6 separate regions of the Homo sapiens genome follow, and regions 1, 2, 3, 4 and 6 are each linked to region 5. The links are contacts of gene promoters, found by promoter capture Hi-C in blood cells and fetal thymus (Javierre and others, 2016). All regions are on one chromosome and are shown on one strand. Each heading gives the region's core, a stretch centred on a gene start or on the middle of the fragment in contact. The rest is flanking DNA. Distances are from core to core; before and after follow the strand shown.

Region 1 (4,025 bases), core at 1,179-3,678, 1.4 Mb before region 5:
ACTGGCCTGTCCTGCTCAGCTTGGGCCAGTGACAATCTGCAAGGCTGAACAACAGCCCCTGGGGTTGAGGCCCCTGTGGCTCCTGGTCAGGCTGCCCGTTGTGGGGAGGGGCAGTGTTAGAGCAGGGCTGGTCATACCCTCTGGAGTTCAGAGGAAGAGGTAGGACCAGTGCTTTTTTGTTTCTTTTGTTATTTTTGGTTGGGTGGGTGGGAAGGTCTCTTTAAAATGGGGCAGGCCACACCCCCATTCCGTGCCTCAATTTCCCCATCTGTAAACTGTAGATATGACTACTGACCTACCTCGCAGGGGGCTGTGGGGAGGCATAAGCTGATGTTTGTAAAGCGCTTTGTAAATAAACGTGCTCTCTGAATGCCACAGAGCAGCCCTGTGTGTGTCTCACCAGCCTGACGGGGCCTGCTCACCTGCCCCCAGCCTCCAGTGCAGTGGGAGGGCCCTGGAGAAGCCTGGGTTCTGATCTGGTCCTGGTTTTTCCATTCGTAAAATGGTGGGAGTGTGGACCAGGACATCACTCAGGGTCCTTCCACTTTCAGAGTTGGTTCCAAGGGACCCTGGCCATTGCTGTCCCCATCCAGGCCTCTGAAGCAGTTCCTCAGGTAGGGTATATCAACTCGAGATCCCTGAGGGCCACAGAGCTGCCTCTCACTCCACTGGGGGCCCTGGATCAGGTTCAGCTCTTTCTGGGGCAGCATGGGAGGCTCAGGCTTTGGTGTCAGGCAGATGGGCCCAGCAGCTGCGAGACCCTGGGCAAGTTAGTGCCCTCTCTGGGGCCTACTTTATCATCTGTAAAGTGGGGACAGTCCTGTTTGGATCAGATGAGGTAATGATTAAGTGCCTTATGTAGTGCCAAGCGTGTTGAAAGGGCTTACTTTACAAACATCGCAGAGATGGGGGCAGAGGAGACACAGCCCTGCTGGGGATGACCGTCCCATTGCCCCAGCCCAGCCCATTCCCAGCCCCAGCCGCCTCCATGGGGTAGAGAGGGAGGAGGAGCAGGCTGGCTGGTAGGGACCTGGGTCACTCCTGACTCTGTCACAGGCTTGCTGCCTGACCTTGGACAAGACAATTCCTGTTTCTGGAACTCAGTTTCTTCATATGAAGGCTGACTCTATGATGTACTCATTCTGTTTGCACACTGGCTGACCCTCTGTGCCTCAGTTTCTCCATTGGTCAGAGGATACAACCCATTCTAATGACCTCACAATTCAGCATACTTTAATCTGAGTTAAAAATTAATTGGCCAGTTAGGATCACACTTGGATAGGGCACAGACTGACCCCCTCATCCTCATTCTGAGCTGACCTCTGAGCCTTACGCGATGCATCACAAATGTGTGTCACGGGTACTGGCCAAGCGATAGAATATGACTTGCTTTGGCCAATAGCATGGGCAGAAGTGATGGCGTGTGAGTTCTGGATCCCAGGTCTCATGAGGCCTTGCAGTTTTTGCTTTTGCTCTTCTGGAACTCTGCTATACAAGGGAAGCTGTCTCACCTACCGGATGATTTGAGGGCACACAGAGGAGAACCAGCGCGTGCCATGAACAGTCAGTAGCAACTCCCAGGCTGTGAGTGAGGCTGTCTTGAACCTTCCAGTCTAGCTGACCTGTCAGGTAAGTGTAGCCACATGGCTAAGCTTAGAAGACACTGCCCAACCAACCCCTAGAACTGGGAGAGATGATAAATGGTTTTTTTTTTTGAAGACAGTCTGTTGAAATCACTTGTTACATACACAGTTAGTTTTTGCTAACTGATACACACGCGTGCGGAGCAGTCTGGATGCGGCTCGGCCCTTTGCTCTGTTCGGTGCTGGCTCCTCAAGGGCAGGGAGTATTTCTGTGCCATCTTGTGTCCATTGCCCAGTAAGGGGCTTGTCATGGAGCTAGTGCCCTGGAAATGTTGGCACGAGGGAGGGAAGGAAGGAGAGGTTGGACTTGCCTGCCCGACTGACCAGGGGCCTTGTGTGGCCTCTCAGAGAAGCTGGGGAGGTGGGCTCTGTATTAGGAGGAGCACCAGCTCCAGAACCCATAGTCCCGCCCCCAGCTCCACAACCCACAGTCGGGTGACCTTGCACAATCCCCTAACAACCCTGCAATAAACATAACAGGACCTACCTGCAGGATTGGTTGTGAGGTCTAGGGACAAAATATTTAAAAGGAACCAGCATACTCCCTGGTGACATAATTGACCCTCAATAAAGGGCATCTCACGCCATAATACTGAAGCCCCTGGATAATGAAAATGGTGACGATCACCTTTCATCTAGTGCCTATTCCTGTGTTATGTGTCCTACACCCTTTGGCTCTTCCTTACTCCATACAGCAGCTCTTTAAAGGGGGGATTCCTACCCCTCCATTTTAGAGACAAGACATGGAGGCTCAGGGAAGTGAGTTTACTCACCCAAGGTCACCTGGCCACTATATGGCAGAGCAGGGACTTGAACCCATGTTTAGGCTGACTCCAACACCTGGGCCTTTAACTGCTCTGCTCTGTGGCCTCCCTGGCCCAAAAGCCTAAGGATCCCCTCGGTGTAATACCAGATGGGGAATTTGTGGCCTAAGCACTGCTTTTCAAATGCTGTGAAATGTGTCAGAGGTGGCGGCCTCTCAGACAAGGTGGCGGCCTCTCAGACAAGGTGGCCAGGAGCACAGGAAGATGAATGGTCCAGCCGGGTTCTGTCCAGGGCCTCTGGCTGAGCAAGTGTGGGTAGAAACCTCCACCCACCCAGGCCCCAGCAAATAAGATTTCTACAAGTGCAGCTAGGCCAGCTGCCTGTTACTGCCAGAAGCTAAGTTGTTTCTTTATACCATAATAAATCTGGCTGTAGGAGTCAGCGAAAGCAATGATTACTTCACACAACCTCTCTCAGCCCCTGATTGAGATGCATTATATATCCCAGGCACCCAGGAGATGGAGCCGTGACATTGATGGATGCCAAGGCCACTTGCAAGGCCCTCATTGGGAGCAGGGCCTGGCCAATCTCTCTCCCTGGGCTCCATGGACCTCCCCCTGCCCCGGTGACCTCTGATGGACAGGAGCTTAATGAGCTTTGGCCTCAACATCCCCATGGCTAAGGGCAGTGCAGAAATAATGGAGTCATTGCATAGGCAGGATCAACAGGTTCAAGTCAGGCAATGAATGGCCAGCAGGTAGAGGATGAGGGCTTTGGACGTGGGGATGTAAGAAAGCAAAGCTTTATTCGGCACTGAAATGCACATTGCTCAGTGCTCTCTGTAGACTGTCATATGTCAGTCTCCAGTTCCACCTGTGAGGTAGGTACTATGATCATCGCCATTTTACAGATGAGGAGACTGAGGCTTAGAGAGCTTAAGCAACTTGCCCCAGGTCAGAGAGCCAACAAGGTCACACAAACAACAGCAACCAGTGTGATCGTTTGAAAAAACAGGCCAGATCCCATCACTCACCTGCTCAAACCCTCCAGTGCCTCCTGCTGCTGTGTGCATGAGCACTGTGCTCCTGACCATGACCTCTGAGGCCCACCTGTCCTGGCTCTACCCTGTCTGTCCACGTCCCTCCTGCACGCTCCTGCGCACTCCAGGCTCTTCTTCCCCCATCATTCTGAGCTCTTTGCATGGACACCCTTCTCCGGTCCTGCATACCTGGCTCTTGCCTGGTGTCCAGTTCCCAGATCAGATGTCCCCTTCCTGAGATGCCCTCCCTGAATGCCCTGAGTGGCCCTCCAGCACCCACTGTCCCTGTGTCTTTCAGGGCCCATCCTGTGTCTGTGCCTTGCTGCTTTCTCACAGTGGGTGATGAGCTTGTTCATTCACTGGGTATTTCTTCTCACCAGACTGAGCAGCGAGAGGCCAGGGCCATGTAGGTCTTGTCCTCCTGTGTCTGTTGCACTGGGCATGGTGCCTGGCACATGACAAGAACTCAACGAGTATTTGTTGAATGAATGAAAGTTGCAGAGCTGGGACTGGAGCTCAGGTCTGTCTGGCTCCAAAGCCTATACTCTTAAGCACATAATTTTTAGTCCTTGGATGAC
Region 2 (4,502 bases), core at 656-3,155, 1.5 Mb after region 5:
ACCTGTCTAAAAAACAAAAATACAATCTGGCCCTACCCGGCCTGAGTTTCTGCTTGCTAACAATGTGCAAGAGCTGCTGTATTTTACTGCAATCACCACCTCTCCCTCACTCTGGCAGGTGCTAATATTGTTGCTATATATTGTTTATAGCAAAGGAGAAAGTAACTTGTTAACCTATGTTTCTGTCAATTATTCTTGCCTGTTCTCATTACCCAACTGGCCCCTCTAGGCTATTGTTGACCCTTCTACTACATCCTCTATCCCTCACCCCATGCATACATTTTTATGTTCTTTATCTCACCTAGAACACCCTTGTTATATGGAAATCTATCAAGGCCTGATTTATATGGTGCCTTCTCAAGAGATTTCCAGAATGCTTTTCTAGAAATAATCAGGGCCTTGGTTTCAGGACATCTAGATTCCAACCTTTCTGAGCCTCAGTTCCATCATTATACTAAAAATTGAATATCTCTTATCCAACATGCTTGGGACCAGAAGTGTTTCCAATTTGGGATTTTCTCAAATTTTACCGGTTGAGCTTCCCCAATCTGAAAATCTGAAATCCAACATGCACGGCTCTGAAGTCTTTCACTGAGCCTTTGGGGGAAATATTTAACATCCTAACAGCCCTAAACCAACGCTCAATTAGCACAACAGTTTACAATCTTCTCTACCCACAGCCTGATGCGAGGCTCTGGGACTAGACTATTTAGCCAACAGTTCTTGCAAAATTAACTGACTTATAAGTAAATAGTAATTTCAACACCTCACTGCTAATGCTGTAACAACTCTGCAGACCTAGGGAGCAAGTACGGTTTGCAGAGCACTGGGAAGGCTCTGAAGTGACCTTTGAACTGGGCCTCAAAAAATTTTGGGTTTGGCAAAAGTCAAATCTCTTAGGCTTCAAATTCCAGGCACAAGGATTGTTGGGTTTGATTTCATTATCCAGAAGCAATGGGGATACAGAATTGTGATCTCATGTGTAGGGAACTGTGGGGGTTTTTTCTACTTTAACCCCAGTGAGACTTTGTAGAGTGTGGGGTAGAGAAAAGGCTCATGAATATGCCTGAAGCCTAACTCAGCACCTTTCTGAGGAACTGACTGCCAAAATGGTAATGGAGAGGGGAAAATATGACCTACTTTCACAAGTTACCTTGACTGCCTCAGGGAAACCTGCTGTGGTAGTGTTTCTTCTGGGTGAAAGACCAGGTAATTACCTGGGTGCTGGTCTCAGACTTACCAGTTTTGAATCCCTGTTTTAACCACTCACTATCGATATGACCTTGGATAAGTTACCTAACCTTTCTCTTACTGTCCTTTTCCGTAAAATGGGGATAACAGATAGTAGTTATTTCTATGAGTGGTTATGAGAACCAAGCTATTAGATAGCGGGAAAGCACACAGTAAGCGTTCAAGGAACTGCTATTGTTATTAAAAGCCTCCTTTGGAAGAAGGACATTGAGGCCCAGAGAGAGAACAGAACGTCCAGCCACACAGCAAATCCGTGATGAAGTTGGGACTGGAGTATGGGTCTCCTGAGTCTCAGCCCAGGACTCTATCCCTCTTCCCGAGTCCTCGGAGTTCCCGGATGGAGTCACATTTGTTCACGGCCAGGGAGGAAGGTTTGATGGAGGCCTGCAGGAAACAACAGCCAGGCGCAAGGCTTTGGGAGTTGAAGCATAGCTTCTGCGAGATAGAAACAAGGTTGACATGGGCACTCGTGCAGAATGACGGGCTCCTTTTGGACTCCCAGGACTACAGTCCCTTATGCACCTTGGGATCTGCGGCTAGCCCCTGCGTAAAGAGGGACGCGTAGTCTTTTCCCTGCCCCGCCCTGCCGGGGCGCCCGCCTCCGAGGCCGCCCTCGCTTCGTCCTTCCCAGCAAGCTCCGCGCCGGCGCCGGCTATTGATTGGCTGAGGCGGGAGCAGGCGGCTGGCCGGCAGCAGTTACTCGGGGTTTCCGGTGCGAGGCCAGAGGTGGGGAAGCCATCGGACGTCGGCGGTGAGGTACGTGCAGCGGCGGCCGGTGGGCGAGACTATTTGAGAGTGTGCGGGCCGGGATGTTCTCGGCCTGTGGGGAAATCACGCCAACTCCCCGCGTGGGCCGGGGGCTGTCTGGGGATATGCGCATGCGCGGGCGTGCCTCGCGGCTTGAGGGCGCGCGGGGCGTGGGTGGCTGCGCGCGCGGGGGGCGCACGTGGGGCCTGAGGGGCGGGGGCGGTGCCGGGAGTCCCGCCACGTCAGTCTCCGGCCCTGAGCCAATCCCGCGCCCGGCCTGCCGCGAGGGGGCCGGTTGTGCCGGGAAGTGGCTCCAGGGAGAAGAGGCCTCTTCCCTCACCCGCTGTGGGAGCTGCGCCCCGAAAGCCTGCCCCGGCACGTCGGGCTCTCCTGACCCGCCAAGACCAGAGAGCCGTTGGCGCCCTCCGCCCGGGCCTGCCGGTCCGTTTATTTTAAGAAGCTTTGTGCGCCTGCTGTGGGGATTTCTGATCCAGGCTGCGAAGAATTTCGAAGTCTGGAAAATAGCAACTGTGTTTGTTTCTAAAGGATCTTCTCCTGACCCAGCATCGCTCATCACAATGAAGAACCAAGACAAAAAGAACGGGGCTGCCAAACAATCCAATCCAAAAAGCAGCCCAGGACAACCGGAAGCAGGACCCGAGGGAGCCCAGGAGCGGCCCAGCCAGGCGGCTCCTGCAGTAGAAGCAGAAGGTCCCGGCAGCAGCCAGGCTCCTCGGAAGCCGGAGGGTGTGTGCCAGCTCTGCGTTGCCAGCGGGCAGGGGGAGGAGCTGTGGGGTCGGCCTCGCTTCTGGACTTACAGGCCGAGGCCAGGTTGTCCGGGAGGAGGAGATGTAGAATGAGAGGACAGTGCTGGGGGCCGCGGTCCCCCCTGCGCTCTGGCGAGTTGGCGGAGCTGCCCCCTCTAAGCACAGGAACAGAGTTCTGGAGAGAAGCTCCGACGGGATTAAGTCAGGTGGCAGCCAAACGAGGCACCCAGTCAGGAAATCCAGGTCCCGTTAGAAACACCTCAGCCACCAGCAGCTAACTGCCCTTCCTGTTTGAGGCATTTCTAGAATGATCTGAATGGCAAGAAATGGTTTTGTGGGGGGGAAGGAGATGGACTAGAAGTTGCTCCGTGCCATCCCTGTGTGCTGATGCTTTACATACTTTTATGATCTAACAAATATGTTCGGGTGGTAGTGAGAAATAGTTGTGTCATTTTACAAGTAAACAGACTTAAAGAAGTTAGGCAACGATTACTATAATTTCTTGATTTAAAAGATGTTTCGAATCTAAATTCTGACAGGAACTAGATTTGCTGAATGATACTCCATTCTTGCTTCTCAGTTTCCATAAAAAAAAAAGTTAGGCAACATTTAACTCAAACTGATGAGTTTGGCTGGGCCTGAAAAATCCCAACCAGTGGTATAATCGTCTTCTTTCTCACTCTACCCCTCATCCTCTCCTGCTGTAGGGGCTCAAGCCAGAACGGCTCAGTCTGGGGCCCTTCGTGATGTCTCTGAGGAGCTGAGCCGCCAACTGGAAGACATACTGAGCACATACTGTGTGGACAATAACCAGGGGGGCCCCGGCGAGGATGGGGCACAGGGTGAGCCGGCTGAACCCGAAGATGCAGAGAAGTCCCGGACCTATGTGGCAAGGAATGGGGAGCCTGAACCAACTCCAGTAGTCAATGGAGAGAAGGAACCCTCCAAGGGGGATCCAAACACAGAAGAGATCCGGCAGAGTGACGAGGTCGGAGACCGAGACCATCGAAGGCCACAGGAGAAGAAAAAAGCCAAGGGTTTGGGTGAGCAGAGGGCGGCTCTTTGTGAAGCTGGTGAGGAGAGGGAGTTTGGACTTGACGTTCTCTGGGCCAGTCTGTTCTGCCAGGATTCAAAGGAAAACGGTACTTCTCAGAGCAGCAAGTCACTCTAGTCTAATCAAAGCCAGGGATGTGGGGGCCACGGCATAGAGAGATGCAGGAGTTACCAGCACAAAGCCTTCTGGGTTTTGGAGCAACTGGAGCTTGGCATGGGACCTGTTCTCTCTTTGAGAAAATGGAGACGGGAGGCTAGGGTAGGCTCCTGTGCCAGCCAGTACTACCTGCTGTGTGACCTTGGGTGTGTCCCTTCTCCTCTCTGGGTCTTAGTTTATATTTCTCTTTACAGTAAGAAAATTAGACTAGGCCAGAGTTGAAAACCCAAATATCTGCATAAGCTGGGCTGGCCATGGGGCCACCTGAAGATGGAGGCTTTACTGCTTCCTGATTAGTTGCTCTCAGCTAGCCAACTGAGAGCAGGCAAAACTACAGGCTGGGTGCAGTCAGGCTTTTTTTTTTTTTTTTTTTTTTTAAATAAAGAAAAGCCAGAAATCTAGAGTTATGTGAGAACTCTAGATTTTTTCATAGTTAGCAGCTAAAATGGTAAGAGCCAAACAAAACCCATCCGTGGGTTGGATTTGGCACACATGCCTGCGAATTGCAGTCTCCATGCTGATCTCTT
Region 3 (4,408 bases), core at 659-3,158, 1.5 Mb before region 5:
ATCAATATTCGTAAGTGTTTTAAAAAGCCAATCTGTGAATTATCTAAAATCCAGTTTAAAGCCACACTTTGGGAACTCCTTGGATGGTAGGTCTAAAATCTGGTTTAATGTCACACTTTGGGAGACCCTTGAGTGGTGGGTCAGAATGTTCCAGTGGGAATTGCTTTCTAGTGAAGGGGTCTGGGTCAGGTTACTTAACCTTTCTGAGCTTCAGTCCCCCTGTTTTACAACATGGGAATAATAACATTTACCATATAGGGTTAGTTTGAAGATTTATTCAACGAATGCTTATTGAGTGTCTATTACGTGCGAGGTGCTATTGTGGTTGGTAGGGATATATGACTATAACCAGGACAGACAAAGGCCACCAACATGTGAGTTCTTCCTGGAACTCACATTTTGGCAAGAGGAGATAGATAATAGATGAGTAAACAAGTGAAGTATACAGTTGGCCTTTGAACATCACAGGTTTGAATTGGGCAGATCCACTTACATAGATTTTTTTTTCACTCACACGTGCATCAAAAATACGGTATTTGCGGGCTGGGCATGGTGGGTTATACCTTTTATCCCAGTGCTTTGGGAGGCTGAGATGGGAGGAATGCTTGAGGCAAGGAGTTTGAGACCAGCCTGGACAACATAGCAAAACCCTGTCTCTACAACACAACAGCAACAATAATTAGCTGAATGTGGTGGCATGTGCCTGTAGTCACAGCTATTCAGGAGGCTGAGGCAGGAGGATTGCTGGAGCCCAGGAGATCAAGGCTGCAGTGAGCTAAGATTTCACACTGCACTCCAGCCTGGATGACAGATCAAGATCTTATCTAGAGACAAACAAACCAGCAATACAAAAAACTCCAGTGTTTCTAGGGCCTGTATATATGAAGGGCCAACTATGGGACTTGAATATGTGTGAATTCGGTTATATGTAGGGGTCCTAGAACCAATCCCTGGCATATACCGAGGGAGGACTTTATGGCCTGTCAGATGGTGATAAGTGCCGTGAAGAAGAAAAGCAGGGAGTGGGGCCTGGAGGGTTGTTATTTTTAAAAGTCTCAAGGGAAGGTGACATTTGAGCAGAGATCTGAAGGAGGTGAGGGACTGAGCCGTGCAGAGAGCTGGGGGCTTGCTGGGGGAAGCAAGCACCAGCCCGACTGAGCAGCCAGCACAAAGGCCTGGAGGCTGGAGAATGCTTGGCACGTGCAAGGGGCATCCAGGAGACCAGTGTCACTGTGTTAGTGACTGAGTGGGAGATGGCAGGAGAAGAGGCTGAAGTTGAGCTGCAGATGTGGGACTTAGAGCCGTTGTACACAGAGAGAGCTGGGGAGCCACTGAAGAGTTTAGAGAGCAGGAGTGAGCATCATCTACTTTTGTTTAAAAGGATCACTCTGGCCCTTTTGTGGAGAATGTTCTCCAGGAGGGCAAAGGTGCCGCAGAGACCAGGGAGGAGGCTACTGCAATGATCTGCTTAAGAGGTGGTGATGGCTGGGAGCCGAGTGGAAGTGGTGGTGGTGGGGAGAAGTGGTCAGATTCTGGGTTTATTTTAAAGGCAGAGCTAACTGCATTTGCTGATGGATTGAATATGGGATGAGAGAAAGGGAAATAGAAGTCAAGGATGGCTCCAAGGTGTTTTGCTAGAGCAGCAGGAATGATGGAGCTGTCATTTCCTGGAGCGGACTGTGGTGGCAGCTGATTTGACGTGGGTGTCATAGATCAGGAGTTCTGTGTTGGAAATGTTGACTTCGAGATCCCTATTAGACATTCAAGTGGAGATATTCATCAGCAGATGGATACATGAGTGTGGAGTTCAGGGAAGGGGTTCGGGCTGCAGATAGAAATTTGAAAGTCATCAGTGTGGAGATGGTATAGATGGCATTTAAAGCCCTGAGGTTGGATGAGATCTTTTACGCTAATGGTTCTCAACTAGGGGCAATTTTGTCTCCTAGGAGACATTTGACAGTGACTGAGGACATAACCGTTGTCACAACTGGGTGGCGGCAATGGGGTGTTACTGGCATCTAAAGGGATAGAGGCCAGGGAAGCTGCTAAACATCCTACAATGCACAGACAGCCACATAAGAAAGAATTATCTAGTCTAAAATGTTCATAGTGCTGAGGTTGAGAATCCCCGATTCAGTCCTTAGATTTTTAGGGAATAAATGTAGATGGAAGAAAGAGGAGTTGGAAAGCCTGAACCTTGGAGCCTCCAGTGTTTTGGGTTAAATGCAGACAATTGCAGGGAAATGCATTAAATGCATGTGAAGTATAGCGCTTAACACACAGTAAGCACCCAGTAAATGATGGTGTTTTTAATCTTTCAAAGGCAGTTCTGGTTTGCCACTTAGGATAAAAGGAATCATAGCACAGGGTTCCGCAGAGGATCTCTATTGCACTCCCCTTAGTGTACAGATGGGGAAGCTGAAACCCAGAGAGGGGAAGAGACTTGGCTGTGATCAGACAGTGGGTCAAGAACCCAGGTTTCATGATGACGGCTGTTGATTATTCCCATTTTACAGATGAATAAACTCAGATTTAGAGATTTAGCCACTTGTACAAATCTACACAGTGAGTCCATGGCAGAGCTTGAATCAAAATTTGAATCTCTTGATTTCTCATCCAGTGTTTTGTTTTAGTTTTTTGTTTTATTTTGTTTTTAGAGACAGGGTCTCACTCTGTCACCTGGGCTGGAGTGCAGTGGCACGATCATAGCTCACTGCGTGCAGCCTTGAACTCCTGGGCTCAAGTGATCCTCTTGCTTCAGCCTCCTAAGCAGCTGGGGCTACAGGCTTGCACCACCATGCCCAGCTAATTTATATACATATATATATATATATATATATATATATTTTTTTTTTTTTTTTTTTTTTTTTTTTTGTAGAGACAGGGTTTCACTCTGTTGCTCAGGCTGATCTTAAACTCCTGGCTTCAAGGGATCCTCCTGTTTCAGCCTCCCAAAGTGCTGGGATTACAGACAGGAGCCAGTGCATCCAGCCTAATCCAGTGTTTTTAACAGCAGCAGCAGCAGCTGCTGCTGCCACCATCATGGGCTGAATGCCCACTTTGTGCTGGGCACTGTGAAACAGTTTTCATAGGCTGGCCAGGACGGAAGCTGGGGCAGGGGCCTGGCAGACAGGGTGCAAACACCTCCCCCTGCCCTTCTGAATTACACGGTTCTCTTTGTTGACATCATGGCCCCTCCCTGCTTAGGCGCGTTGGCCGGCAGTTGTTTTGCTGTTGGCCAGCTGTGTTGTCATCTCCTCCATCCCCATGAAACTCCCCTCGCACTATATTATTTACTGTAAAAACAATAATATAGCATCAGGCGAAGGCATTTTTTAAAATAAGCACTCCGAAGCTCATCATCCTAGCCCAACAGCTGTTTTAATTTTTCTGACTTCTTCACATCTCTGCCCATATGCCTGCAGTAGACATTTTTACACCCTTGCATTGGGATGTAGAAAGCATTTCGTATGCTGCTTCATTTGCTTGGTGTTGTTACGTGTGTTATGTTGTTTATAATTATGTTTACTGACTCTAGAAGTCCATTGAATGTCCCCATTTAGCTGGACTGTTTGCCTCCAGACTTCTATAATGATAAATAATACTATATTGAGAAACCTAGCGCTTGTAGTTCTTCCCTTCTCCCCCCACCCTGAGTTATTTCTTTAGGATAAAGTGTCAGGAGTGGTTGAAGAAAGGGCTTTTAAATATATTGCTTTAAAAAATGGTTGTGCCAATTTATACTGCTACTGGCATCTCATGTTAATGCACACATGTTTATTAATTACTATAGACTGGTAATGACTGTAGGCTGGTAATGACTGTAGGCTGGGCAATTTGACTCATATTATCTCATGTAACTCTCACATTTGCTCTTTAAAGTAGGCATCATAATCTCCATTTGTTTGTTTTTGTTTCTTTTTTTGACAGAGCCTCACTCTGTCACCCAGGCTGGAGTGCAGTGGCATGATCTTGGCTCACCGCTTCCTCTACCTCCCGGGCTGAAGCTATTCACCCACCTCAGCCTCCCAAGTAGCTGGGACTACAGGCGCGCACCACCATGCCTGGCTAATTTTTATATTTTTGTAGAGATGAGGTCTCACTACTATGTTGCCCATGAAGGTCTCGAACCCCTGAGCGATCCTGCCTTGGCTTCCCAAAATGCTGAGATTACAGGCATGAGCTACTGCACCCAGCCATAATCTCCATTTTTTAGTGGAGGAACCTGACATCAACATTCAAAGGGGGTTAAGTAACTTGCCTGAAGCCACAGAACTATGGCCAGGTGCAGTGGCTCATGCCTGTAATCCCAGAACTTTGGGAGGCTGAGGCAGGTGGATCACTTCAGCTCAGGAGATTGAGACCAGACTGGGGCAACATGGTGAAACCCTGTCTCTACAAAAAACAC
Region 4 (4,079 bases), core at 1,580-4,079, 1.0 Mb before region 5:
CGCCAAGCGACAGAAGCTGTCAGCAGGTGTCTGCCAGGTGGAAAAAAACCACATCTGGGCCCCATTCCTCAGACGATGACACAGAGTGGGCCACAGAAAGGGGCAAGGGTGGCTGCTGAGCCTGAGTAGGGCTTGGTCTTCTGGAGAACAGCAGGGTGCAGACGGCTACTGCCTGGCCCCTGTGAAAGGAGATCTTAGAAAGACGAAGAGGGACCATTTCCTGTGCAGAGTAACTGATACTCTCTCAGCCTGGTTTTCATTAGCCCAGCCCAGCCTGGGGAGAGGGATGCTTTCCCAGGAAGGGGTGCCCGGGGCTATTGCAAAGCAGGCTGGGAAATGGGGGCAGGCCCTGTCACCGATGTCCTCATTAGCACTCACGTTGATGTTATTTGTGGAGCCCCTGTTCTTGGCCAGATGCTGTGGGTCGTTCTTTTACATCTTCCTTCAAAACTGCCTGGGCAGTGTTTATTTCCTCATTTTGCAGACGAGGGCCCTGAGGCTCACAGCTTGGTCCATCCCTCCACATTCCCAGATTCTGTTCCCTCCTCTGTGGTGACCTTGCTGAGTCACTGTGGGTGAGTCCCCTTCCCTCTCTGGGTTGGAGAGAATGAACCTCAAGGCCCCGTCTAGGCCCAGCACTGGTGGGGGCTGTGCCAGGTAGCATGGTCGGCAGGGCCCCTTCACCCCACATGTAGGCAGCTGGCAGACCTAGTGAAGCTCATCTTCCATTTCCTCCTCTCCTATGATTTGCTGTTGTGGTCCTTGGAGAAGCCCCCGAGTAAATATTAATAATGTACCTTTGTGTACGTTGGCTGAGGGAGAAAATGAATCATTTCCTGCTTCCCTCCTGGGCTCAGAATCTTAACTAAAACTATGCTGGATCTTTCAGCAACTGGGATGGGCCTGTTGGAGGGGGCCGAGGCAGAGCCACGAAACAGCTGCCTCCCCTGGCTGCCCGGATGCTGAAATTTCACCTTTCAAAAGCTGTGCCTGGATTTCCCAATATCACAAAGAGCATGGGTACCAAAAGCTTAGGTTCAAGTCTTTGCTTGCCCCAGCATGCCCCAACTGTGTGGCTATAGTGACTCTTTGAATCTCAGCACAGCCTAAGATGTGTGCCCCATCCGGTAGGGTAAGCTAGCTGCTTTCACGTGGTGAGCTCATTCCATGGCCCTCCTGCTGTCTGAGCAGTTCTTAGGTGCCAGTTTCTGCATGGAAGGCGATCATGAAACATAGGAAGGAAAACACAAATCACACTCCAGCTTGCAGAAGGGACACCGCAAAGGGAGACAGGTGGAGCCATTAGCCAGTGCTCAGGCACTAGTTTGCTGTTTGCAGAGCTCTTTTTCCACTTGATTTTTCATTTGATCTTGAAAAGGAGCCTGGGGGCTGCCCCATTCTACAGACAAGAAAACTGGAACTTGTCAAGGGACTTGAGTAAGGGCTCATTACTAGTGAAGGGAGAAAGGAGATTTAGTCTAGAACTATTTCCAAACCTCATGCTCCTGTCCTCACCGGGCTGCCAGGCAAGGCTGAAGGGAGGTGGCTCAGGAAGAACATGCTCAAGGAGGAAACTTTTGAGCTGGTTTTTGGAAGAAAAGAAGGAACACGATGGAATGGGGAGGGAAAGTCTGGGGGTGGGGAAGCCTCTACAGGTGCAGTCAGCGCATCGAGTCAGGCCTACCTTCTCCACCACCCTCCCCAGACACCCTGGAACACACTTTTCTGCCCCTGCAGAGGCCTTGCCTTCTGCTAGCACTTGGAACTCCAGCCTCTCTCTTCTTGCCCATACTACATTGACTCTATGAAGCCAACTAAGTGGATTTCTGTGCCCCCTTCCACTTGAACCAGTTACCTGCAGAAGCTGGCTCCATCTTCTTCCTCCCCACTGCCATCATTTCTTGCCTACTACAGTCTGATTTCTGTCTTGTCAAGGTTACAAATACCCTTCCTATGCCTCCTCCTTGTGGACATGTCTCTGTCCTTGTGGCCTTTGGCTTCTCAGCGGCATTTGACCCCAGAGATCACTTCTTCCCTCTGGAAACACCATCTCACCTAGGTATCTGTGACTCAATTCTAGTTGGCTGGTTTCTTTTCTACTTCATAGGCTAAGGACCAATAAGGATAAATTCTAGAACTCTCTGTAATTCAAAGATGTCCAGCAGGTATAATAGGCTGCCTCAGGAGGAAGAGGGGAGAAAGGAGGAAGAGGGACTGCTCATATGGTGAGCACTTACTATGTGCCAAGCCCTGTACAAGGCGGTTTAGGTCCCATTGCCTTGTGGGGTAAGAATGTTCATCCCTTTTTTTTTTTTTTTTTTTTTTTTTGAGACGGAGTCTCGCTCTGTCCGCCAGGCTGGAGTGCAGTGGCGCAATCTCGGCTCACTGCAAGCTCCGCTTCCCGGGTTCACGCCATTCTCCTGCCTCAGCCTCCCGAGTAGCTGGGACTACAGGCGCCCGCCACCGCGCCCGGCTAATTTTTTGTATTTTTAGTAGAGACGGGGTTTCACCTTGTTAGCCAGGATGGTCTCGATCTCCTGACCTCATGATCCACCCGCCTCGGCCTCCCAAAGTGCTGGGATTACAGGTGTGAGCCACCGCGCCCGGCCTGTTCATCCCTTTTTTGAGATTGTAAAGCAGAGTCTCAGAACATATGAGGGATGACCCATGGCCACACAGCTAGTAATGGAGGAATGCTGGACTTAAATCTCAATAGTAATTGTTACCGTTTATTAACACCTATGGGTGCCAGGCCCTGAGCATGTTCTATGAGCTGAGCCATCTGGTTCTCACCACAACCCAGACGTGGCTGTCATTCATAGTGCTATGAAATGCAAGGACGTTGTGCCCCAGAAGGTAAAAGATTTACCCAAGTCCTCTCAGGAAGTAGGTGGAGGGGCTGGGTCTGGAGTCTGGGTCTGTCTGAGACCCCAGCCATATTCTTTACCTCCCCTGTTCTTGCAGGGAGCTAAGCATGAGATGACCCTTGAGAGGGTCACTGCTTCAGAAGCCCACTCAGGACTTCATGGCATGGGACCTAAAGACAGAGAAGGTTCTTCCCTGCCCCAAGATTCCAGGAGGCTCCCCCATAGACATTGTTCCTGTAAGTGCCTGTGTTGGCAGCGACTTCCTGTGGTCTCTGAATCATTGTGTTCAGGCTTCATCACAATCAGTTTCTGCAAAAACAGTCATTTCTGCCGTGAAATCTATTCAGCGTGGCCAGCGGGGCAGGAACAGAAGAGAAAGGCCAAGTGGGGTCAATGTGGTGTTTTATGTGGTATTGACCCAGCTTGTCTGTGCAGAGGATGCAGGGAGGGGGACCTGGTGGGAGGGATTAGGTGGCATGTGTTGAGCACCTACTATGTACTGGGCACTGTGCTGGCTTGCTGGCTCTTGGCTTGCTGTAACTCATTTAATATTCAATGAAACAACTCAATGAGAGGAGAACCCGTTTTTGTTTGTTTTAACAAAAGAGGAAACAAGTTCAGAGAAGTTAAGCAACTTGTCCAAGTTCATATAGCCGCTAAGTCGTGGATCAAAGATTCATGCCCAGCACTTCCTGATGTCAAAACTTACGCTCTTCCTAGTTCACTGAAATGAAAGAAGGAGAGAAGAAACCTTTATTGTGAACACTTATTGAGCCCTTTCTAAGAGTCTGGGACTTTGCTTGATAATTCTATTCCAATGTTATACACACTAGGATTCATTACTTGTGTCACCATTTTACAGATGAGGAAACCGAGGCTTGGAGAGGGGACTTGATTGCCTGGGGTCTCATAGCCTGTAAACAGTAGAACCAAGGACTCTGACCCACAGATCATCATCCTTTCCAACATTTTGGGGAGAGAGGAAGAGCCTCATCAGATCACAGTCATCAAGGTGGAGGCTGTAATCTGTGCTAAGAAGGAGGGGTGGGTGAATGGGAAGGCAGTGGCCACTAAAGAGTCATGATTCCTTGAAAGGTGTCACCCTCCTCCTAGGGCCTGGTGGCTGAGGCTGCTCCTGGGTGTCCACTTGCAGTGTGCTGTCACTGGCTGAGGGTGATCACGGGGGCCCTCAACCCCCGTGTGAGCCCACAG
Region 5 (4,542 bases), core at 121-2,620:
GGGTCACATCCCAAAGACCCACACACACACCTCCCCTCCGAGAAGGGCTCTGAACCTTCTCCTGCCAGTGCCCAGGCCTCTCAGACTCTCCCGCATCACAGAAAACTCTGGCACCCAAAACTCACGACACAGAAACATGTGTAGGTTTTCTGGGAGCTCTCCTTCCTGAGCTCTGGGCCCTCCTTGGTCCCTGCCAGGATTCTGCCACATAAAAGGGCTCTGTTGTTTTTTGTGTGTGCGGTTTTTTTTTTTGTTTTGTTTTTTTTTTGAGACGGAGTCGTCTCGCTCTGTCGCCCAGGCTGGAGTGCAGTGGCACGATCTCGGCTCACTGCAAGCTCCGCTTCCCGGGTTCACGCCGTTTTCCTGGCGCAGCCTCCCGAGTAGCTGGGACTACAGGCGCCCGCAACAACGCCCGGCTAATTTTTTGTATTTTTAGTAGAGACCGGTTTCACCATGTTGGCCAGGATGGTCTCGATCTCCTGACTTCGTGATCCGCCCGCCTCGGCCTCTCAAAGTGCTGGGATTACAGGCGTGAGCCACCGCGCCCGGCCATAAAAGGACTCTTAACATCGCCTCTCCCCAACTCCCTTAACCTGGGGCTGGAGACCCTCCTCCGTTATCAGGCTCCGCCCCAGCTACGGCCCCACCCCTGGTGCTGGCACCACCTCAGTCTAATCCAGGTTCCACCCCCAATCCACCTAAGCCGTGTCCCTAGCCCTGGCCCCGCCCTGATGTTGCCGTGTAACTCAGTTCCCGCCGTTTTATAGGCTACCGCCCCAGCCAGGCCCCGCCCTCTGATGTGGCCCCGCCCCCCGACGCTGACTTTTTCTGTCTTCACTTTAGCGCTGGCTCCGCCCCTAGCCTTGGCCCGCCTCAGCGCGGACTCTCAGTCTCTGCGCCTGCCACGGCCTCGTCCCGCTCAGCCCTGGCCCTGCCCCTGGAGCCGACTCTCTCCGCCTCCGCCCCGGTCCCGCCCTGGCACTGACTGTCTCCGTCTTCGCCCCTGCCCTGGCCCCGCCCCCTGCCTGCTCTGGCCCCGCCCCGCCGCTCTCTCCGTCTCCGCCCCTGCCCTGGCCCCACCCTTGCCCCGCCCCGGCGCTGACTCTCTCCGTCTCCGCCTCCGCCCCCGGCTCCTCCCCGGCCCCGCCCCGGCACTGACATTCTATCTCTCTCCCGTCTCCGCCTCTGCCCCCCCCCCGGCCCCGCCCCTGCCCTGCGCCGGCGCTGGCTCCGTCTGCGCCTCAGCCTCGGTCCCGCCTCCAGCCCTGGCCCCGCCCCGCCGCTCTCCCCTTCTCCGCCCCTGCCCTGGCTCCGCCCCCGCCTGCCCGCGCACCGCAGAAGGCCTCCTGGAACTTCCTGGACAGCTTCTCGATGACGCTGTAGCTCTCCACGTAATCGACGTGTTCGTCCTGCGGCTCGCTGGCGATCTGCCGCAGCGTGGCCTTGTCCACGCTGCCCACTCCGATGGCGAACAGCTCGACGCCGCTGGCCCGGGCCCGCGCAGACACGTCCTGCACGCTGTCCTGGGGCCTCCCGTCTGTCACCACGATGACCACCTGCGACACGCGGGGCGGTGTGACACCGGGCTCCCGGAAGCCCACGGGACTGTCCAGGAGAGGAGGCTGAGGCCCGGAGAGGCGGGAGGACTGCCGGGTCGCACAGCCAGGCGGCACCCGGGGGAAGAGGACCCGGCTGGCCGAAGAGGAGACCCGTTTCCTCTGACTGAGAGACGTGGCTGGGGGGCTTTCCATCTGCTTCGCCTCCCTCGGGCAGGCAGCTCTGAGATGCCCGGAGGGATGTGATGCCCCATCGCCAAATTGGGGTCTCTAAGGTCAGGGCCATGCCTTCCCCTCAGACTGAGGCGGCTGAGGGCAGGGTCCTCAGGCTGATGGCTGTGGGAGTCGTGCCACGCCCCTCGTGCCCCCGGGAGGCCCGGCCGGGGCTGGGTGGGGGGATCCGGTGGTTCCACATGGTGCAGTTCTGCGCTTTGGCCACCAGATGGCAGCCGAAGCTAAGGGATGGGGCTGCCGTCTCCCGTCTTGCTGTCCTTGTCCCGGTAAGACCGGGGACCCTGGACCAGGGAACCGACGGAGGGCCACTCCCATGTGGATGCCCAAGGGACCAACCCAAGAAAGATGCCGCCCTTATCCTCCTCCACTCCCCGGTATGATACATGCCCCTGCCAGAGAGGGAAAGAATCTGCCTGCTCCCCTCCCACTAGGCTCCTCTGGTCTGTACCCTGGAAAGAAAGAGGTGGCGGACTCTGTCACTGAGATCCGGCTTCGTGACCCCCTGTCTGCACCCGCCCTGAGGCTAGGGCGCTCCCAGCTCTGCCCAGTCTGGGTTAGGCATCCAGTCCCGCTTTGCTGCTTCTCTGCTTCTGACTTGGGTCTGTTTCTGATTCCTGGGTCCCATCCTTAGCCCCAGGTCCTGACACCCTGTCCTGATGACAGGCAGTTGAGACAGGCCGTGTTTAGAAATGCAGCTCCACAAGCTACAGGTCACCTTCCTGAGCCTCAGTGTCTTCAACTGTAAAAAGGGTTGTGGTGAGGTTGAGTGAGATGACTCCTGGTTAGAAGCCAGAAGGGGCAACTATTATTTTTACCATCATTACCCTGGGCTACCTGGGGAGTGACTTTGTACAATCTCTTCCTCTCCAGGGGCCTGGGCTCCTGGCTCTGAAAATCTAGCTGTGACTATTCGCTGCCATCCCGAGGCCCACTGCCTCCTCGAGTCCCTACTCCCCTCCCTGCAACCCAGCTTTCAGATTGTCCACCTTGCTGGGTCCTCCCACAGGTGAACTCCAGGCTGAACACCTGGAGTCTGGTGCCAGCTCCCCCAGCGCCGCTGTGTCACCTGCTGGAGGAGCTCTCTCCTCACTTGCCCACCCCACGCCACCACCCCCATCTCCTTCACCCTCTCCACCACCTCAACCATCAGCTTCATCTACAGCACCCCGTGCTGAAACTTGTAGTTGGCCCCAAGACCGACAGGCTGCCTGATACGTCATTTCTCTAAGGGGTGGTAATGGCTGGGATTATATGCTGTTGTCTCTGTGAATGCTTTTCCCACTTATTGGCTGAGCAAGTTGCTTAAGCTTCTTATGCCTCAGTTTCACCATCTGTAAAATGGGGATACCACCTCCGAGCAGAATCATGTTCATTTATCCACTGTGTGCTAGAGAGTGGGGTATGGAGGAGGGATAAGAAAGAACCTCCCCTGAGCTGGGGCCCTGAGCAGGGAAGTGGCGACTCGGGCTAACGAAGGCTGCAGTGGGGAAGTGCTGGAGCCTGTGGGGGTGCCACAGGAACAGAGGACACCTGGCTTAGCCTCAGGTTCTGTGCTGAGCCCTGAACATGACAGTGAGGATACAAGTCCTGGGAAACGCTCAGCCCTCTGCCTGGAGCCCTCACTGACAGCACAGGTGGCAGCACAGCCCTTCCATTTCTGAGCCCCTGCCCTCGGAGAATTATGAAATTAAAAATTATCAAATGCCATGATGGGAAGCCTTATGCTTTTGAACTCAGTCCTCAGCAGCACTTGGAGAAGGTGTTATCATTACTCCCATTTTACAGGTGAGGAAACCGAGCACCAGTGACATGACGTCACTTGCTCGGGGTGGCACAGCTAGTATGGTGGAGCAGGGCGTGAACCCAGGCAGGCTGGTGGCGGAGGCCACACCTTCACTCCTCCCATAAGCATCTGGCCTGTCTGCAATGTCTTCAAGGGGCTCAGACTGGTCGGGAACCAAGGTCAACTAAACTGAAATGATTGTAAGCTCCTAGGATGGAAAGGTTGGGTAAAGGTGGCTTCAAATCCCAGCTCTGTCACTTGCAACTGGTGACCTCTGTCTAATGACCGCCCCTCTCTGACCCTGTTTCCCCAGCTATGAAATGGCCACCTCACGGGGCATCATGGGAATCAAAGTGTCTGCAGGCAAAGCTCATAACTCCGAGCGGGAGCCTCCAAACAGCAGCATCCTAGCAGGGTGGCGTGCACGTACCTTGCTGATGTCAGGGGACCTGGAACGACCACCCTCTGCATCGCCGAAGGCTTTGGTGATAGCGAACTGGATGGCCAGGCCGGTCATGGTGCCTGTGGACAGCGGCTGGATACGGCGCACAGCCTGCAGCAGTGCGGCCTTGGAGACATGAGCCCGCAGCGAGAACTCCTGCTTCACGGTGCTGGCATAGTTGACCATGCCCACCCGGGTGGCATTGGGCCCCACGTCCAGCGACTCGATGACCTGGGACAGGAATACCTTCACTTTCTCAAATTCAACAGGCCGAACGCTGCGAGAGCTGTCGACAACAAACACCAGGTCTGTGGGCCGCGTCCGGCAGAGATGGCCTGGGAGTGGGGCAGGAGGGGTAAGGCAGAGAGCAGAGACACAGGTCAGGGACTGGGCCTGAACACACAGAGTGCGGCTTCTTAGATCCAGGTGCGAGGCCTCGGGCCCAGTAGGCTGCAAACTTCAGCTGGGCAGCTGAGCCCTTTTATCAACATGCAGACACCAGCAAGCAACTTGCCAAAGGCCCCCTG
Region 6 (4,231 bases), core at 1,632-4,131, 1.1 Mb after region 5:
AGGAATTGGAGTGCCAACAAGGCCTGGCATTGCTTGGGAAGCTGGGTGTCTTCAGTCAGGGATATCTGGATGGATTCATGCTAAGGGTTCAATAAGGGGACGTGGGGAAAGGGAACTGATGGTCACTGTCACAGCTCACTCATCCACCCCACATCTGAGAACATGGACAGGCTAAACACTCACGCATGCGCAGCCCACATGCCTATCAGACGGGATGAGGAAGAAGCAAAGAGAACCGTCCAGGGATAGTTGCCCAAACAAGTTCCGGCCCCGCCTCTATGTTAATGACATGCAGATATATGTAAATTTGTACAAGCAACCGCTCAAACCTTTGGGAGCAATGGGGTGACACAGGAGCAGTTGCTATGGAAATCCAAAAGCGATACCCGCTCTGCACCCCCACCCCCCTCACAGGCAGGCGCACAGACACGTGCACAAAGACGCAGGGTTCTTCACTCCGGAGCCAAGAGGATCACGGAGTGGCAGAGTGTGAACCGGAAGGACCCTCAGAAACTGCGTCCAGCCGGGGGAAGCTCAGGCCCGAAGAAAGTCACCGGGAGAGCAGTGTCGCGATCCCTGGTAGCCTGGGGCGCCTTCCACTAAAACCCAGGGCGCGAGGTGTCCCTTCCGGGTCCCGGGCGATTCCGGCTCCGGCCTAGCAACAACAAGCCCCGCCCAGCGTTGCATAGCAACGTCCCTGGAGCCTAGCAACCGTCAGTCACGCCCCCTAGCAACGTCATGCCTAATCCTCGCTCCAGGCTTCTGCCGAGAGAGAGAGGGGCAAGGGGCTCGTGGACTGGGGCCAAAAGGTGGCGGGGGTGGGGGAGGGTGTCATGTTTAGCAGGCTGCAGGATTTCGGGGCCCACCTACAGCCCTTCCACGGGCGAGCTGTTACAGAGCCGCGTTATCACCCCCATTTACAGAAGGGAAAACTGAAGCTCCCAAAGGAAATCCCTGCCCAGGGTACAGAGCTCGCTCTTGCCTGCGTGTTCCAGGAGAGCGGCTCTGGCGGCTCTCCGGAGGAAGCCCTGGACCTGGAGGGGAGGGAGTGCACACCCGTTTCCCTCCATACCAACTGCATTAGGAAAACCACCCAAACTGTGGGCTCAGAACCAAGCTGTAGGTTTGCATAGTAATTTGCGTCATTTGCATAGAGCGCGGAGGCTGCGGCGCTCCCAGGCCATTTCGAGCCGGAAAAGTTCCCGAAGGAGCCCCGCTCCCTCTCCCGGTTCAACTGTCCAGCCCCCTCTCCCTACCCCTCACCCGCACCCCACCCGCATCCTACCCCGCCCCCGCTTCCAACTCCTTGCGCTAAGTTCCCGCACCTCGCCCCACCCCCCGCTTTGACTCCGGTCCTGCCAGCCCCGACCTCCATCCCAAGGCCGAGGGCCCCCTCTGCTGTCGTCCGCGGGTAGGGCAGCCGCAGAGCTCATGGGGCAGAGAAGAAGGGCTCCCCCAACCGACCATCGCCCCACCCCTTCCAGTCCAGCAGGGGCCAGGGTGAGGCCTGTACATGGGTGGACTTTGCGAAGGGGTGAGCAAAGAGCGGGTAGGGCCCTTCTGGCCCCGGGGCGAAGGGTGGGGTTCTAGAGAGGTTCTCTCCTGGAAGCCAGGCCCCTTTCCCCACGCTGGGTTGGTTGGCCCTGGCAGCTGGTTCCCCCATCAGTCCGCAGATGCAGCTCTCTCGAGGTACACCCCACATGAAACGCTTGACAGTTGCAGTTGCTGTTAGAAGCTTGTTCTAGGCCCAAGGCAAGGCAGCACCGTCCAACCCTAATACCAGTCTCCAACCCCACCCTGAATGCCCACCACCAAGGCTAAGACCTTTGACATTTTCTAACACCAGTCTCTGGAATCTGGCAAGAGATACAGAGAGGAGTCACCCAATCTGGATCTCCTGACTTCCTCAACAGAGACCTACACACAGGCAGGCCATGAAACTCACACAGATACTCTCACATGCTTGCAGGCACACTAGTGCACAGAGATCCCTGAGAAGCACATAGACAGAGACTCGGAGGGAATATGGTGAAGGTATGTACTATCCTTCCCCATCTAGTCAAAGGAAAAAAAAATCTTAGTATTAACTGAAAAATTTAAAGTCCACTGCAACTTGCTTATCTTTTCCTCTCTAGCAATCTCTTGATGTCTGATGTCTGTGACCCTCCAAAAGGCTCTGTCCATTTCTCTCTCCACCCCCAACCTCGGTCCTACTTTCTTTCCCACCACCACCTCTTCCTCCTGGTTCAGAATACTTGCAAAATGCTTCCAGAAACCACCGTGGCAATAGCTGTGCCCTGGGGCGCAGTGATGGTTCAGGACCTCAGACCAGCAATGAGCAAGGCTGCACATTTGTGCACAAGACACTCACTGACACACCCACTCAACCCACATCTGACCAGGACCAGGGGCTCTCCTGACCAGCTAGCAGATGCAATCCCAATTTTACCAAATTCTTTATTGAACAAAAAATCAACAGCAAACATTGTCAAACAGGAAGTTCAAACAGGGCAGGTGGGTAGGGCTGACCATCCTCTCCTTGCAGTCCCACCTCTCTCTGGAACAGGCTTCAACACTAGTGAGGGCATCAAAACCCCTGTTCTGGTGGGTAAGGAGGGTCAGGCCTTTCTAGGGAAGGGACACTCAGAGCCAGCTTCATCTGTAGGCCCCAAAGAGGAGTCACGGGCTGGGCCAGGGGGCTCTGGAGCTGCAAGGGCGCTAGACAAACGCTGCAGAGGGCGGGGGATGGAGCTCTTGGTCTGGGGGCACAGTAAGGCTTGGAGCTGGTGACTCATGGTCGCCAGGGATTCGAGGTGCCGGAGCAGGGCTTGGTGGGGACAGGAGTCCCTGTGGAAGTGCTGGCCACGGCCAAAGCCATGACCAGCTGGTGCTACTGAATAGGGATGCTGGGACTGGCGCAAGCCTGGCTCTGGGGGCCACTGCCCTCGCCCAGGATGCTGCCAGTTTTCAGGCTCTGGCCAGAGCCTCCCCCTGCCTCTGGGGGGCCTCTGCCAAGCAGAGATTCCCCTTGGAGCTATACTGCCCCTGCCCTGGCTCTGCTGCCAGGCACCTCCTGGGGGAGGGGTGCCCTTCAGGGGCACATTCGGCCTCCTGTCATCTGGCTGATAGTATCTCTTCTCCACCTTACTGTTGAAGGAGACCATCTTTTGAACCTTCCCCAACCAGGGGCTGGACCCTGCTGTGTCTGGAAGCCCTTCCTTGGGGAGCAGCACAGCCAGCAACAGACTTGAGTGAGTGACCTCCAGACCTGGGGAAAGGAGAGGGGAGACAGGAAGAGCCCAAAGGCCTGCGGGGAAGAACTGTGTTCAGCTTAGCTGCAGCAGATCTGGAGCCTACATCCCAGGAAGGGCTTCTTCACAGTGAGATGGGGCCCATGAGATGCTGGGAAAAGTAAGTAGGAAGGTGGGGCTGTCTCGGAAGATTTGAGCTCTGCGGGATCAAGGCTTATCTGGCTGAGGCTGGGGTATGGATTGTTTGACCTGAAGACTCTACAGACTCAAAGTCTACCTCATTGTCTCAGGACATGGAGCCCCAAAAGGCCAAGCGCTTTGCTCAGGAGTGGGCAAAGCGCCCACTGCCAACCTCGCTGCTTTCCTGAGCCACGCCGTGGAGGGTGTCCATGCACAGAGGCCGAGCTCGGCCCCCCGTGGCTGTGGCGAAACATCCCTCCCTCCTCTCTGAGGTGACATTTACAGTCAAGTGTGTGTAGGTCCTGACTCTGTCCTGCTGCCTGGGTCAAATGTGGCTGTCCCTGGAGTTTCTCTTCAGGGGTGCCTACCTTGAGAGGCAGTGTGGTGTGGTGGTTAGGGGCCAGGTTTCTGAAGCCATGTTGTGCTTCACACAACGTGTGAACAGAGTGAAGCCCAGTTCTGCTGTTGACTGACTGTGTGACTTTGGACAAGTCATTTGCCTTCTTCCTCCCTCAGATTCTTCTTCTATGAGATGGACAGTCTAGTCTAATAGTACCATTCTCATAGGGTGATGAGACTACAAGAATTCATCTAGGTAAAGCTTTTAGAACAATGGCTGGCATGCAGTTCATGATATCCAAGCGTGAGCTATTACTGTCATTGTACTCACATTTGCCTGGCTGGGTGAGGAGTTCCCTTCTGAGATGTGCCTGCCTCTACTGGGTGACTGTGTCAACCGTGCCTGGTCTGGTCACCAAGTGAGCAGAGGCAGGGTCTGGTATGGGGACTAGGCACTCACC

Evidence for each region. Contacts are between HindIII fragments. The CHiCAGO score rates a contact against its expected background, and 5 or more counts as called.
Region 1: a fragment that was not itself captured here is called in contact with the fragment with the promoter of MATN1-AS1 in region 5 in 5 of 17 cell types (M2 macrophages, erythroblasts, M0 macrophages and 2 more); the score reaches 8.0 in M2 macrophages.
Region 2: a contact is called between the fragment with the promoter of TXLNA here and the fragment with the promoter of MATN1-AS1 in region 5, in 5 of 17 cell types (monocytes, neutrophils, activated CD4 T cells and 2 more). The highest score is 8.2, in monocytes.
Region 3: a contact is called between a fragment that was not itself captured here and the fragment with the promoter of MATN1-AS1 in region 5, in 10 of 17 cell types (megakaryocytes, endothelial precursors, erythroblasts and 7 more). The highest score is 13.1, in megakaryocytes.
Region 4: a fragment that was not itself captured here is called in contact with the fragment with the promoter of MATN1-AS1 in region 5 in 2 of 17 cell types (endothelial precursors and M1 macrophages); the score reaches 11.5 in endothelial precursors.
Region 6: a fragment that was not itself captured here is called in contact with the fragment with the promoter of MATN1-AS1 in region 5 in 1 of 17 cell types (neutrophils); the score reaches 9.0 in neutrophils.

The regions. Positions count from the first base shown.
Region 1 is chr1:29,326,426-29,330,450 of GRCh38, forward strand. It overlaps LINC01756 (long intergenic non-protein coding RNA 1756), which reads right to left. Exons shown (of 3, transcript NR_110758.1): 3 at 3,195-4,025. PTPRU (protein tyrosine phosphatase receptor type U) reads left to right here. Exons shown (of 30, transcript NM_133178.4): 30 at 1-375. Among named protein-coding and RNA genes, the nearest start is that of LINC01756, 22 kb to the right of the region's middle. The HindIII fragment of the contact is 1,557 bases long and covers 1,651-3,207 here.
Region 2 is chr1:32,177,770-32,182,271 of GRCh38, forward strand. It overlaps TXLNA (taxilin alpha), which reads left to right and starts at 1,906. Exons shown (of 11, transcript NM_175852.4): 1 at 1,906-2,007; 2 at 2,545-2,745; 3 at 3,473-3,808. The coding sequence starts at 2,577. RefSeq lists enhancers at 1,084-1,843, 1,844-2,602, 2,490-2,569, 2,690-2,849, 2,860-2,909 and silencers at 1,780-1,969, 2,110-2,289. The HindIII fragment of the contact is 3,390 bases long and covers 1-2,456 here.
Region 3 is chr1:29,266,402-29,270,809 of GRCh38, forward strand. All of the region lies in intron 7 of PTPRU (protein tyrosine phosphatase receptor type U), which reads left to right. Among named protein-coding and RNA genes, the nearest start is that of PTPRU, 32 kb to the left of the region's middle. The HindIII fragment of the contact is 6,519 bases long and covers 1-4,408 here.
Region 4 is chr1:29,708,946-29,713,024 of GRCh38, forward strand. No RefSeq gene overlaps it. Among named protein-coding and RNA genes, the nearest start is that of LINC01648, 330 kb to the right of the region's middle. RefSeq lists enhancers at 1-537, 248-1,447, 538-1,131, 1,017-1,116. The HindIII fragment of the contact is 3,602 bases long and covers 1,029-4,079 here.
Region 5 is chr1:30,717,402-30,721,943 of GRCh38, forward strand. MATN1-AS1 (MATN1 antisense RNA 1) reads left to right here and starts at 1,371. Exons shown (of 4, transcript NR_034182.1): 1 at 1,371-2,164; 2 at 3,887-4,321. MATN1 (matrilin 1) reads right to left here. Exons shown (of 8, transcript NM_002379.3): 2 at 4,004-4,350; 3 at 1,334-1,556. RefSeq lists silencers at 594-773, 814-1,333, 1,894-1,983 and enhancers at 1,394-1,563, 1,661-2,236. The HindIII fragment of the contact is 4,958 bases long and covers 1-3,095 here.
Region 6 is chr1:31,787,985-31,792,215 of GRCh38, forward strand. It overlaps SPOCD1 (SPOC domain containing 1), which reads right to left. Exons shown (of 16, transcript NM_144569.7): 15 at 4,231; 16 at 2,438-3,307. The coding sequence ends at 2,619. Among named protein-coding and RNA genes, the nearest start is that of ADGRB2, 26 kb to the left of the region's middle. RefSeq lists an enhancer at 178-953 and silencers at 739-788, 1,119-1,408. The HindIII fragment of the contact is 2,297 bases long and covers 1,734-4,030 here.